Regions from separate parts of the Homo sapiens genome. Here region 1 is linked to region 2. Evidence: promoter capture Hi-C in human tissues and cell types (Jung and others, 2019). All regions are on one chromosome and are shown on one strand. Each heading gives the region's core, a stretch centred on a gene start or on the middle of the fragment in contact. The rest is flanking DNA. Distances are from core to core; before and after follow the strand shown. Region 1 overlaps LOC107985383 (a long non-coding RNA gene). Region 2 holds the start of CST9 (cystatin 9).

Region 1 (7,059 bases), core at 4,258-6,757, 70 kb before region 2:
CACCTATAATCCCAGCTACTTGGGAGGCTGAGGCAGGAGAATCACTTGAACCCAGGAGGCAGAGGTTGCAGTAAGCCGAGATCGTGCCATTGTACTCCAGCCTGGGCAATAGAGCAAGTCTCTGTCTCAAACAAACAAACAAACAAACAAAAAATATTAATCTTGACTATAAACAGCCTAAATGACCCACTTAAAAGGCACAGATTACAAGTTGTATTTAAAAACCCAGACCCATCCATCTGCTGTCTTTGAAAAGATCCATCTCACACATAATGACACCCATAGTCTCAACAAAAAGGGTTGGAGGGAGATCTATCACACAAATAGAAAACACAAAAGGGAGAGGTTTGCTATTTTCACATCAGATGAAACAGACTTTAATCCCAAAACAGCAATTTAGAAAGGACAAAGAAGGGCATTACATGATGACAAAGGGTTCAATTAAACGAGAAGACTTAGTTATTCTTAAACATGTGCACCCAACATTGCAGCCCCTAGATTGATAAACAAGTATGCCCAGGCCAACAAAAAGAATTAGTCACAGAATAATAATGGGGTACTTCAATATCCCAATGGCAGTGTTAGATAGATTATTGACGTAGAAAACTAACAAAGAAATTCTGGATTTAAATTTGATACTTGACCAATTGGACCTAATAGACATCTACAGAATACACCACCCATCAACCACAGAACATACTTTCTTCTCATGGGACCACAGAGCATGCTCTAAGACAGACCACATGCTCAGCCATGAAGCAGGTCTCAATAAATTAAAAAAGGAAAATCATACTAACTGTAATCTCAGACCACAGTGGAATAAAAATAGAAATCAATACCAATAAGACAAAATGAAATAAAAATAGAAATCCATACTAAAGAGAGTTGCTGAAGCCACAATTTTTCCTGAGTGATAGGTACTATGGCCAGGAACAGCTATGCAGTCATGGACTTGTGTGTGGGTGTCATTTCTGGGTGCCCCAGCCTGCCCCCTTTGTCAGTTGGGAGGTGTGTCCCACCAGTTTTGAGCTGCTGGTGTGAATGGGGAGTGTGGTTCATAGCTCCCTTATCTTGCAAATAATTTGGCAGAGCAAAAACACCCCCCCCTCAGGTCCAAGCCTGGGCATATTTCCCAGCATTCAACACTTCCACTTCCTGAAATAAGGGCCTGGCACCCCTCCCATGAACAGAGCTTCTTGCAACAGCCATTTCTCCACTCTGCAGCAAATTTTTTTGTTCCTCACTGAGGGACATATTTCCAGGCATTTGGCCCATCTGCTCACCTAGATTAAGATCCTGGGTCACCCCTCCATTGCTGTGCAGACATCTTGGTGCAGAAGCACCCTCTTCACTCCACAACCAGGCATAATTTCAAGAATTCAGTACACCCCCTCACCTGGATTAGGAGTATAAGTTGCCTTTCCCTTCTAATGCGGAGATCTTAGTGCGTCTTTATTTTCCACTCCTCTCCAGGGCATAGTTCCAAGCACTCAGTGCACCTGCTCTACTGGACTGGAACCCTGAGTCACTTCTCTTGTCCTGTGCAGAAATCTTGGTACAGCAGTGCCGTCTCTGTCTTGCTCAGGGATATTTCCAGGCATGTTGAGTACCCACTTACCTGGAATAGGAACCTGAGCTTCCCCTCCCTTCTCATGCAGAGATCTTGGTGCAGACGCACCCTCTCCACTCCATGCTGGGCACATTCCCAGGCATTTGGAGAACCTTCTCACCTGGATTAGGAGCCTCAGCCACCCCTCCCTTCAGGTGCATAGGTCTTGAATCAGCAGCACCCACTGTGCTGCATGCCTGGACGTATCTTCATGCATGTGGAGTACTCGCTTTTCTAGATTAGGAGGGTAGGTTACCACTCCCTTTCCAGGCAGAGAACACTGGGCAGCAGAGGATTATCCCCTCCATACCCAGGCACATCTCTGGATGTTTTGCAGCTGCCTCTTTATCTGACTTCAGAGATAGTGCTTGCACCTACCACTGGTGGACATGTAGGCATGTCTGCATTCTCTGGCCCAAGCCAGCTTGGTCCCTCAGTCCAGGACTGTACAGGGAGCTCACACCACTGTGCATTCCACAACATAGCCCATTGCCTGAGGCAGCAGAAAGCATCTCGCCATAAACAAAGATCAAGTATATGCCCCATCTGAATCAGCCTTAGCTGGTTCTTATCCATAAGCACCACCCACTGGATTGGAAAATAAATGGCACAATCTAATAGAAAATCTGCTGACAGAAATGCATAGCACTGGAGAATGAGATAAACTTCCTGAGACCTCAGCCATACTGGACATGTAGGAGGCAGTGAACCCACTCATTTCTCCCTTCACCACTACTACAACCAACATCTAAGGAAGCCACCATACAAAGACTACCTATAACCAAGGAACATACACAGAACCTTTGACAATGAAAGCACCCAGAACCAAAGTTGAACCCTACACAGCACACATTATACACATTCTCAAGGGAGAAAAGGAAAAAACAAAAACATCCCTTCCAAATGAAAGTAAATTTAAAAATTAGAAACAGAGATAGCTTTACAGATGAGAAGGAACCAGAGAAAAAATTCCAAAAGTATGGAAAAGCAGAGTGTAACAATACCTCAAAAGGACCACACTAACTCTCCCGCAATGGGTCTTCATGAAAATAATTTTTCTGAAATGCTTGATAAAGAATTTAAAATGCCGATTTTAAAAATGCACAATATAATCCAAGAGAAAATTGAAAACCAAAATAAATCAGAAATACTATTCAAGTATCAAAAAAGATAGATTTTTAAAAACCCAAACAACTACTAGAAATAAAAAATGTATTGGTGAAATTTTGAAATCCAGTTAAAAGTATCAATAGTAGGCTTGACCAAAGCAGAAGAAATTATTTCAGATGTGGAAAGTAGGTCTTTGAAATTAACCCAGTCAGACAAAAATAAAGGAAAAAAATTAATGATTAAACATTTCAAGAAATATGGGACCATATAAAAAGCATGTAAAATTAGGAGTCACACATATTTCAGAGAGAGAACAAAAAGGAAAAAAATAGGAAAATCTATAAATGAGACAAATAAGGTAATTATATAATGATAAAGAAATTTATTGGGGAAGATCTAACAATTCCAAATACATTTGCACCAAACATTAGAACACCTAGATTCATAAAACAAATACTACTACACCTAAAAAAAGAGATAAATACCAATACGGTATTTGTATGGGACTTCAATATCTCACTGACAGAACTAGACAGTTTATTGAGGCAGAAAATCAACCAAAAAATTCTGGAATTAAGTTGAACTCTAGAGCAAATGGACCTAACAGATATTTACAGAATATTCTACCCTACAACTTCAGAATATACAGTCTTCTGGTATATGCATAAAACATTCTCAAAAATTTACCATATGCTAGGCCACAAGGAAAATTTCAATAAATGTAAAAAAATTGAAATCATACCAAATACCTTCTTGAACCACAGTGAAATAAACATACAGATCAACACTAAGAGGAATACTCAAAACTATACAAATACATGAAAATTAAATGATCTGCTTCTGAATGACTGTTGGACCAATGATGAAATTAAAATCGACATTAAAAAAAGTAAATGAATAAAAATAAAGATATAGATTGCAAAAATGTCTTAAAAACAACCAAATCAGTACTAAGAGGGAAATTTATAACATTAACTGCCTACATGAAAAAGATAGAAAGATTTCAAATAAGCAACTTAAGGTTATACCTCAAGAAACCTGAGGAAAAAAAACAAACCACACCCAAGGCTAGTAAAAAAGAAAAAAAGAATAAAAATCAGAAAAGGACTAAATGAAATTGAGACCAAAAAAAAAAAAAAAGAATCAATGAAATGAAGTTGGTTGTTTGAAAAGATCAACAAAATCAATAGACCACTAGCTAGATTAACCAACAAACAAAGAGAGGAGATTCAAACAAGTGCAAGCAGAAGCGATAAAGGTGTCATTACAACTGATACAACAGAAATACAGAAGATTATCAAAGACTACTCTGAGCATCGCTATGTGATCAAATGAGAAAATCTAGAAGAAATAGATGGATTTCTGGAAATATACAATCCCCTAAGTTTCAACCAGGAAGAAAAAGAAATTTTGAACAGACCAATAATGAGTAATAAAATTGAATTAGTAAGAAAAAAAAAAAAAAACTCCCAACAACAACAAAAAAGCCTAGGACCAGATGAGTTCATAGCCAAATTCTATCAGATGTACAAGACAGAACTGCTGCCAATCTTACTGAAACTTTTCCAAAAAGGGAATCTTCTCTATTCTATTCTATGTAGCCAGCATTGCGATGATACCAAAGATAGACAAGGACATAACCAAAAACAACAACAACAAAAAACTACAAACCAATATCTCTAATAAACATAGAAGCAAAAATCTTCAACAAAATGCTACCACACAAAATCCAGCAGCATATCAAAGACATAATACACAAAGATTGAGTGGGTTTTATTCCAGAGATGCAAGATTGATTCAACAGACACAATAAAAAAAATAGGATTCACCACATAAACAGAATTAAAAACAAAAATCATGTGATCATATCAAAAGATTCGGGAAAAGGCATTTAACCAAATGCAGCATCTCTTCATAACAAAGACCCTTACCAAACTAGGCATAGAAGGAACATACCTCAAAACAATAAATGCCATATATGACAAACCCAACGCCAACATCATTCTGAATGAAGAAAAGTTGAAAGCATTTTCCCTAAGAATAGGAATAAGGCAAGGATACCCACTATGACTACTCCTATTCAACATACTACCGGAAGTTCCAGCTAAAGCAATCAGGCAGAAGAAAGAAATAAAGTACATCCAAATTGTAAAAGAGGAAGTCAAATTTTCTGTTTTCTTTTATGTTATGATCTTATACCTAGAAAACCCTAGAGATTCTTCCAAAGACTCTTCGATTTGATAAATTTCTTCATGAAAGTTTCAGGATACAAAATTAATGTACAAAAATCAGTAGCATTTCTACATAACAATAATGACCAAGCTGAGAACAAAATCAAGAACTCAATCCAATTCATAATAGCTACAAAAAGTAATAAAATACCTAGAAACACATTTAACCAAGGAGGTGAAAGATCTCTACAAAGAGAACTACAAAATCCTGAAGAAAGAAATAATAGATGGCACAAAGAAATTTTAAAAATCCCATGCTTATAGATTGGGAGAATCAATATCATTAAAATGACCATACTGCCCAAGCTATCTACAGATTCAGTTAAATTACTATCATACTACCAATGTCATTCTTCATAGAATTAGAAAAAAAAATCCTAAAATTCATATGAAACCAAGAAAAGATCATGAATACCCAAAGTAATGCTAAGCAAAGAGAATAAAATTGGAGATATCATATTATATTGCAAGGCTGTAGTAACCAAAACAGCACGGTCATGTTATAGAAATAGACACATACTGAAAAATAAAGCCACACAGCTACAGTCAACTGATTTCTGACAAACTTGACAAAATTATATAAAGGGAAATCACATTCTATTCAATAAATGGTGCTGGGATAATTGCTGAGCCATATGTAGATTCATGAAACTGGCCTCTTACCTTCCATCACATACAAAAATTAACTCAAGGTGGATTAAAGACTTAAATGTAAGAACTGAAACTATAAAAATCTTAGAAGACAACCTAGGAAAAACTCTTCTAACTATTGATCTAGGCAAAGAATTTCTGATGAAGTCCTCAAAGTAAAATACAACAAAAACCAAAACAGAGAAATGGGATTTAATAAAACTAAAAAGCTTCTGCACAGCGAAAGAAATAATTATCAGTAAACAAACAACCTACAGAATGGGAGAAAAGATTTGCCAACGGTGTGTCTGACAAAGAGCTAATTTCCAGACTCTACAAGGAACTCAAACAACTCAACGAGAAAAACAAGAATAACCCCATTAAAAAGTGGGCATAGGGTATGAACAGACATTTTTAAATAAAAGACATACAAATGGCAAACTTATGAAAATGCTTAACATAATTAAATATCAGAGAAATGAAAATTAAAGCCACAATGCCATACCATCTTATACTAGTCACAATGGCTGTTATTAAGGAGTCAAAAAATAGCCAAGTGCAGTGGTTCATGCTTGTCATCACAGTATTTTGAGAGGCTGAGGTGGGTGGATCACTTGAGCTCAGGCATTCAAGATAAGCCTCGGCAACATAGTGAGACCTTGTCTCAACAAACAAGAAAAAAAAAATATCCAGGTGTGGTGGTGTGGGCCTGCAGTCCTTGCTACTCAGGAGGCAGAGCCAGGAGGATGCCTTGAGCCCAAGAGGTTGGGGCTGCAGTGACCTATGATCATGCCACTGCACTTCAGCCTGGGCAACAGAGGGAGACCCTGTCTCAAAAAAGGTCAAAAAACAAGATGTTGGTATGTAATTAGTATGACCTCTATAGAAAACAGTATGGTAATTTCTAGAAAACTAAAAATAGAACTACCCTTCAATCCAGCAATTCCACTACTGCCTATGTACCCCCCAAAAAGAAAGAAATCATTATATAAAAAAGCCTTCTGCATTTGTATATTTATTGTATCACAATTCAGAATAGCAAAGTTGTGAAATCAACCTAAGTGTCCATCAACACATCATTGAATAAAACAATCTGGTAGATATATACCATGGAATACTATTCAGCCATAAAAGTGAATGAAATTATGACTTTTGCAGCAATGTGTATGGAGCTGGAGGGCATTATCCTTAGTGAAATGACTCAGAAACAGAAAATCAAGAACTGCACATTCCCACTTATACGTGGGCGCTAAACCATGGACATGGACTTACTGAGTTGAATGATAGACATTGGAGGCTCCAAACGGTGGGAGGATAGAATGAGGGTGAAAGTGAAATGCTGCCTATCGGGTTCAATGTATCTTATTTGGGTAGTTGTACATTAAAAGCTCAGATTTCACCTCTACACAATATATCCATGTAACACAACTGCACCTGTACCCCTAAACCCATCAAAAATCTTTAAAAAATTTAGTTTTA
Region 2 (6,951 bases), core at 2,075-4,574:
CAGGGCAGCACCCCCGACTTAGCCAGGGTGAGGGACCTGCTGGACCCACAGGAAGGAGAAGAAACAGCCCATGGGCCTTCCGATTTGCATGTGGTACGAATGACCCCTGATTTAGGCCTCTATATTTACCGGTAATGTTTGTATTTTTATTTCTCCTTTTGTCATTTTTTAATTCAATCATTATTCCTCTTTCTCAGTTTAAATTTGCCATAAGTCTATATGAGATTAATTCCTTAAATTATAAAAACTCAAAGTCAGCTGAAGACTGAGCTAAGAAGAACCCCCCAGGTGGAAAACCTGGAGGAGGGGAGGGAGGAGTGGAGGGGGCTCTGGAATTCCCTGGCAGCACCCCCACCCAGCCCCGCTCACCCCCCTGCCCCGAGCTGCCCCTTTGATGATTGCTATGACAGCAATCACTGGATCACTCACTCTGCTCTGAGTCCGGGCTTCTCCCTGCCCCTGCTGTCTTCCTTTGATCTCCTGGACACCACCTTGTTTTCCAGCACACGGAAACCCCTGGGAATGCTGGCTTGTCTGGGGAGTCTCCTAGGGAAATGCCAAGCAGGGGGAATGGGGAGGGTCCCGAGGAAGTGATCCCAAAGCCCAGCAGGCGATCCTGAAACTGGCAGGCCCCGCTGAGCCTGGCCCAGCTTGAAACAGGCAGTGAGCAAGGTCGCACGGGACCTTTAGAGCATGTGGCTGAGTAGGCCGGGCAGTGAGGGACATGAGTCCGACCCCGGGGAGAGCACTCAGCTGGAGGGTCTGCGGGAGCTGGGGAGAGCGTCCTGTGTCCCGAAGAGTCACTGGGCTTCCCCTCGTCCACCGCCTCATGTTCAGCTTCACAGAAAAGGGCCAGTGGCTTGGTCCTGGTCGTTGCCAGCATTCTCTAATCATTCAAAGGAATGCGTTCAGAAATACAGGGCCTCGTTTCTGGAAAAGCAGGTCCATTTCAGTGAGGAGTTACTGGGACCTTCCTATGAGACCACATGGGTGTTCGGTGCCAGTGCCAGCAACACAAAGAGAGCACCAGACAAGTCCCGGTGGCCCCAGAGACAGACAGGCCAACGAGTGCCCAGGAAGAAGCTGAGTGAGACAGAACTCTTGCAAGGGGACTCAGGAGAGAAAGCCTCCCAGACCTGAGACCTGGGGATAGCCCTGCAGAGAGCTGTGAGCTGTGCCTGTGGGCTGGCCAGCCAGCCCCTCCGGGCCGTCCGGTTTCACTCTGGCCTCGGCAACATGTTGACCCACGTCTTCGGGGCTCCTCAGCCTGGAGCCCACATGTATTTCTCTTTACCTGGCTATGTCTTGATATTCCCGTCTCTCTCCACCTGGGAAGTGAGGCCATCCCAGGCCACTGGGGATTCAACAAGAAAATAGACACACTTGTAAGGGTCCATGGTGTCTGTACACCCGTGGTCTCACATCTGGGTGTGGGGATCCCTGTCCCCTCCTTGGCTGCACAGTGAGGACAGAGCTGGTGCCCAGGACCCTAAACCACTGCTCATGTAAGAGTGAGTGTGGGCACTCCCTTGGAGCACATGTGGGTATCGGCCCTCAGAATGGTGGGGGAGCCACTGGCAATTGGCAGGATGCCCCAAGTTTGTCAGCCGCTGAACTTACAAGGTGAGAGTGACCTCCATGGGCATTGCAGGCCTCTCTCAGGACACTCGCAACCTATTCCAGGCATCAGGATTCTAGTTCTCACAGCACCTTATGGCCTGCTCATCCCAAAACCCACAAAGGCATTTCCGCCCTCACTGACACCCCCTTCCTACCCCTACGTGCACCATCACTCTCCAGCTAAGAAACCACATTAGTTACGCTTCAGCTGCAGTTCCAGTGAACTCAACGCCATCAGAGAAAGGATACAGACTCCTTGGGTGATGTTTTTGGCACATCTGGCTGCTTTCCTGGAATTGTCACATTGAGTTGCTTTTTCTTTGCAAACAGGGTCTAGAAACAAACTCTTATTCTTTATCACCAGGCATGCTGTCTAAGCCTGTCCCCCATCCTGTGTGCCCCACAAAAGCCATTCTCATCCCCTGACCTCCATGCCCCTCAAGCTGAGTTACTTCTCATATGTGGTTTGGTCTGTATGCACTTCCCAGGAAGTATTCTGAACCTGCACCACTCAAAGTATGGTTCTGAGACCGGGAACACAACCATCCTCTGGAAGCTGGTGAGAAATGTAGTTTCCCTGGCCCTGCTCACAGCTACTGGGTCAGAATCTTTGGGTGGGGAAACTAGGAACTTGCTTTTTAACGTGACATCAGGGGATGCTGGTTGCTTCTGAAGTTTACAAGGAGCTACGGATAAACATCAAAGGCATATTTCACAGGGACAAAGCTTAAGTCTGGTCTGTGAAGAGTGCATTATTCAGTCTTTTGAGAGCCCCATTTGCGGTTGGAGTTGGAGGCTATGTGGGTCTTGGTCGAGAACTCAGAATCTCCACCCACAAACTGTGCCGCAGAGTGCTGTGCCGGCTGTGGCCACAGGAGGGAACCCGTGACAACCTAATGGGTGCACTTCAGCCATCCCTGAGGGCATCTTCGTCTTTCTGGTTCTCCACTGCTCCAATTGCAAGCGGCCACCCGTCCTGGAAACACCTTTGAGGAATAGGGGCAGCCATAACTAGCCAGGCCCCTAGTACCAGCACTTGGCAGCGCGTCCCTGGGCTGGGAAGCTGCATTTAGGGAGGTGCAGAGAACAGGGTTGGGGGCTCCTGCTCTTGATTTCCTCAACCTCTGCCCACGACCCCCAGGCTGGTGCCCCCCTCCCGAGACCCTCGGGGGAGCAGACACCTGCAGGACATCCCGCCAATCCTCCCGGGCTCCCCGCCTCTCTCTCAAGAGGCCCAGTGCTTTCTCGGGGCGCTGTACCTGCTCACCCATGATACTAGCATCCACTGTCATCCCTTTCCATCCTTTTGTCTCTGCCTTTCCACCTAACCTCCCCCTCCCAGCCCACCCCCACTGCTGAGTCCAGGGCTCACCTTCCACTCATACCTCTCACACTTGTGTTCCTGTGCCGGGCTCTGACTCTGGGGCGCCCAGTAGAGGTCTCCTTTAGCCTGCGGAGGTGCTGGGGCAGCTGGGGCTGGGCCTCATGTTCAGGGCACTATCTCTCCCATTGCTAGTCTTTTCCAACCCACCTGCCTGGGTGCTGTTCCTCTCCCCTAAACAGGAGATGATTTAAACGCCTTTGGAAGAAGGGAGGCCATGTGTGGGAGAGACAGGGTGTAACTGCAGAGGTGAGGCCTGGAGGGAGGAGTTTCTGCCCCAGCAGGTGAATTTAAAGGCCAGACCTGAGCCCTGGAAGGCTCCAGTGGACGCCAGGGATCTGAAGGGCAAAGGCAAGGGCTGCTGGAGCCTGCATCATGTCGAGTCCGCAGAGGAGGAAGGCTATGCCCTGGGCACTGTCACTGCTTCTCATGGGCTTCCAGCTCCTGGTGACTTATGCCTGGTGTTCTGAAGAGGAAATGGGTGGTAATAATAAAATAGTCCAGGATCCTATGTTCCTCGCCACAGTGGAGTTTGCCTTGAACACTTTCAACGTGCAGAGCAAGGAGGAGCATGCCTACAGGCTGTTGCGCGTCCTGAGTTCATGGAGGGAGGATAGCATGGACAGAAAGGTTGGTGACCACATCCTCTTCTGGCCTGTCCTTCTCCATCTGCCCCTAAGTGAGGGACCAAGATGTCTAGTCTAGGAGACTTGGTTCACCATCAGCAGTCCATAGTCAGGTAGTCCACAACCAATTACGGTAGTTTTAGTTTTGGAAAACATTGAACTTAAAATTTTTTTTAAATTAGGTAAATGTCTATTCACATGCAAAATATATTTTTCAATCTTCATGATTTTTAAGACATTGTATAACTGAAGAGTGACTTCAAAATAAGGACTTCTAAGGAGATGAAGCTGACAAGAAGAGAAAATAACCAAAGAGACTGATAAACATTTCCAGGTCATAAAATGAAAATGGAAAAGCAAGGACACACAGAGGGAGAGAGAGAGAGAGACAGAGAGAGACAGACAGACAGAGAGAGAGAGACAGAGAGAGAGAGAGACAGGCAGACAGAGAGAGAACAGTGAGAATTCGAGGGCAATAAAGAACACCATCAGCCCTGAGAGGCCACCGTGAAAGGTTAGTTCTCTGATCTCCACCTTCTCTGGGCTCCTTGCTCTGTCTGCACTTAATGAACTGAAGGCCAATTTACACTCTTCCTCAATGGACCTTTATCCTAAAATGCTTGCCTTTTTGATGAAATCATTAAATGTGGTCAGGAATGCACAGTTCATCTGGGCTTCAGGCATGAACAATTAAAATGCCCTCCTAGTGGAGAACTTCTGGTTTAGAGAGAGAAGGAGCATTGCTCTTCCTTTCTCAGCACCAAGAGCCTGAAAGAAAGGCAGAGGGACTCTAGTACCGCACAGAGCTTAAGCTCTGGAAAGACTCTGTGCAAGGCTCTGGCTGGTTCTCTGCCTCCTGGGGTGGATTCCTCACTGCCATCCTCAGGATTCCAATGCTGGTACAGAGGAATTTTCCTCCTTGCTCATTTGCTGCCTCCTCTCAGGAGAATTAAAAGCCTGATGCAACCCTCAGAGGGGCATCTGGTCCAGTAATGGTGGCTGCTAATATTCATGCTGGAACCTTGGAAGTCTCAGAGATTGAGATTGGCCAGGCCTCATGCTTCTGCTTTCCCAGTGCTTTGCTTGATTCTCCAAGACCTCAGTGTAAGCCTCCATTCTTAATACCGTTAGAATAAAATCTAAGCTCCTTACTATGGTCTATAAGTCCTAAATGACAGTAAGTCCTAAAAGCTTTCCACATGGCTTCCTGGATATGGCAATCCCAGCATCAGTTTGGGGGCTGGGAAGAATAGATGGGTGAGAGGGAGGCTATGGAGTGGAATTAAATAGAATGGAGTGGGAAGGAGGGCAAGGAGAACTTCAGCATGCACTTTGCAATAGGGCAGATGGTATTTCTTGAACCCATTTTCCCAGGGTGTGTGCCTGTGTGTAGTGGGAGCGCTGTGTGTCATTCTTCTTGCTGGAGGTCACTTGGAAGGTTTGACAACACACTGTAGATGAGGCTCCCTCTGTCCCAGGGCTGAAGTTACCCTGAAAACTCTTGGAGATCCAACACCCTCCCGGACATGTGGCTCTGTCCTCTGGGAATGCAGCTGCAAGATCAGATGCCTACTGAGAGTGAAGCTGGAGTCTCACCGTGGGAAATGGGGGTGGGTGGAGGTGGATAATGTGTTAGTGGGGTCTGACTCAGCCTGCATCCTCCCCAGACCCACCATGCCCACCTGCTTTTTGCTCTTAACTCCTCAGTCTAGAGAAGATCCCCTGGGTTTCACCTCCAGTGAGCTGATGCCAGGCCCATGGGCAAGCTCTCAAATGCAGTAAAGTGTTGGGGCCTCTCCTACTCAAATGGCATCTTCACTAGTAGCTACTTAGGGGCAGGAAGACGGTGCATCCACTTTAATCTTCTTTTGTCCAACAGTGGCGAGGTAAGATGGTGTTCTCCATGAATCTGCAACTGCGCCAAACCGTATGTAGGAAATTTGAAGATGACATTGACAACTGCCCTTTTCAAGAAAGCCTGGAGCTGAACAACGTAAGACAGGGCATCAGCTTTCCTCAGGTCCACAGCTGTGGATGCTGCATGGGGTGTGGTGTGGGCACAGGAGCAGCTGACAAAGCCATTCCGAGGGACAAAGGGAAGTGAGCCCACAGCAGGCTGTACCAGGCTGCCCTGCTTGTGCCTTAGTGGGAAGCCCAGTGAGGCATTAAGCCCAGGGGTTCACTTTCAGGCCCCTGGCCAATCTGAGTTTCCTGATTCTGCCCTCTGACACCATTGCAGCTGCCTGCACCTGGGCCACATGGCCTTCAGAACCTTCTCTCTGGTCTTCCTCCCCACTTCTTCCCTGCCTTCTAGAGAAAGAGCCTGGAGACAATGGTGACAATGTCTGTGGGTACTTTTCTCAGGGTTTCCCTACCCTGCCCTAGACCCAAAAGTGGTGGAGGCTGAGAAGAAGCCCCACTGCCCTCGCTCCTAGGCCCTGCTGAGCTGCAGCACCTGCTCTAGGGGACGAGCTCCAAGCAAAGCCTGGCTCTGGGAAAACTTCCCATTCTTAGTCAACCCCCTTATTGTAAGATTAACAAATAGGTAACTAATTGCCTAAGTCTGGGAACTGCTTCCACTGGGACAAAACATTCTCCTGCTGCTCTTGGATGCAGGGATCACACCAGGACAGCCTGGGGTTCCCCTGAGGGGCACGGGCTGGAGGAGGAGGCATGGCACAAGTGACCCTGGCTAAGGAGGGAGGGAGCCTCAAATCACGTTGTAGTTCAGGATTGGCCTCAGGCTCAGGCTAGACCTGAAGGCCAGAGCCACGTGGCACAATTGCTGGCCCCAGGAATGGGCAAGGTGGAGATGGAACCTGTGTTGAGGGCAGATGCCACAAGATTCCCGAACCTCCCCAAACCCCGCCCTACTGTCTCTTCCTGTTTGTTCCCTCGGACCTTCAGCTGCTTCTTCACTGTTGAAACCATGCCCTGGAAGACATATTTTGAACTCCTGAACAAGACCTGCTCAGAGGGGCTCTCCTGAGTGGAAGCCACTCACATGCCTGGCCACATGCTGCCCCCTCCCCCGTGGACACCAGCTGTTCCCAGGAGTTGACATATCAGTGGCTGAGCAGCTCCGTGCATATTTGTTCTCTTATTTTGCAAGTGTCTGAGGTTTTATGACTTGGCATTTTAGAAAATCCTCACTGTCCAGGTTCCTCAAGTAGAATAGGTCATTAAACATCAGCATTTGCAGAAGCTTCCTGTGCCATGTTCTGGAGGGAGGGGGCTGAGCAGTTGATGGAGTTCCTCTCAGAAGGGCAGCCTATTTGCATCTGTGTCAGTGGGGTCCTCCCTCCCTTAAGACCTCATAAGCCA

The links. Contacts are between HindIII fragments. The study calls those that stand out against the background at their distance.
Region 1: a fragment that was not itself captured here is called in contact with the fragment with the promoter of CST9 in region 2 in 2 of the 25 tissues and cell types used here (heart left ventricle and thymus).

The regions. Positions count from the first base shown.
Region 1 is chr20:23,674,394-23,681,452 of GRCh38, reverse strand. It overlaps LOC107985383 (a long non-coding RNA gene), which reads right to left. Exons shown (of 5, transcript XR_001754712.2): 5 at 6,583-7,059. Among named protein-coding and RNA genes, the nearest start is that of CST4, 11 kb to the left of the region's middle. The HindIII fragment of the contact is 5,616 bases long and covers 2,700-7,059 here.
Region 2 is chr20:23,602,290-23,609,240 of GRCh38, reverse strand. CST9 (cystatin 9) reads left to right here and starts at 3,324. Exons shown (of 2, transcript NM_001008693.3): 1 at 3,324-3,631; 2 at 5,507-6,831. The coding sequence starts at 3,377. The coding sequence ends at 5,731. RefSeq lists an enhancer at 6,374-6,875. The HindIII fragment of the contact is 5,555 bases long and covers 271-5,825 here.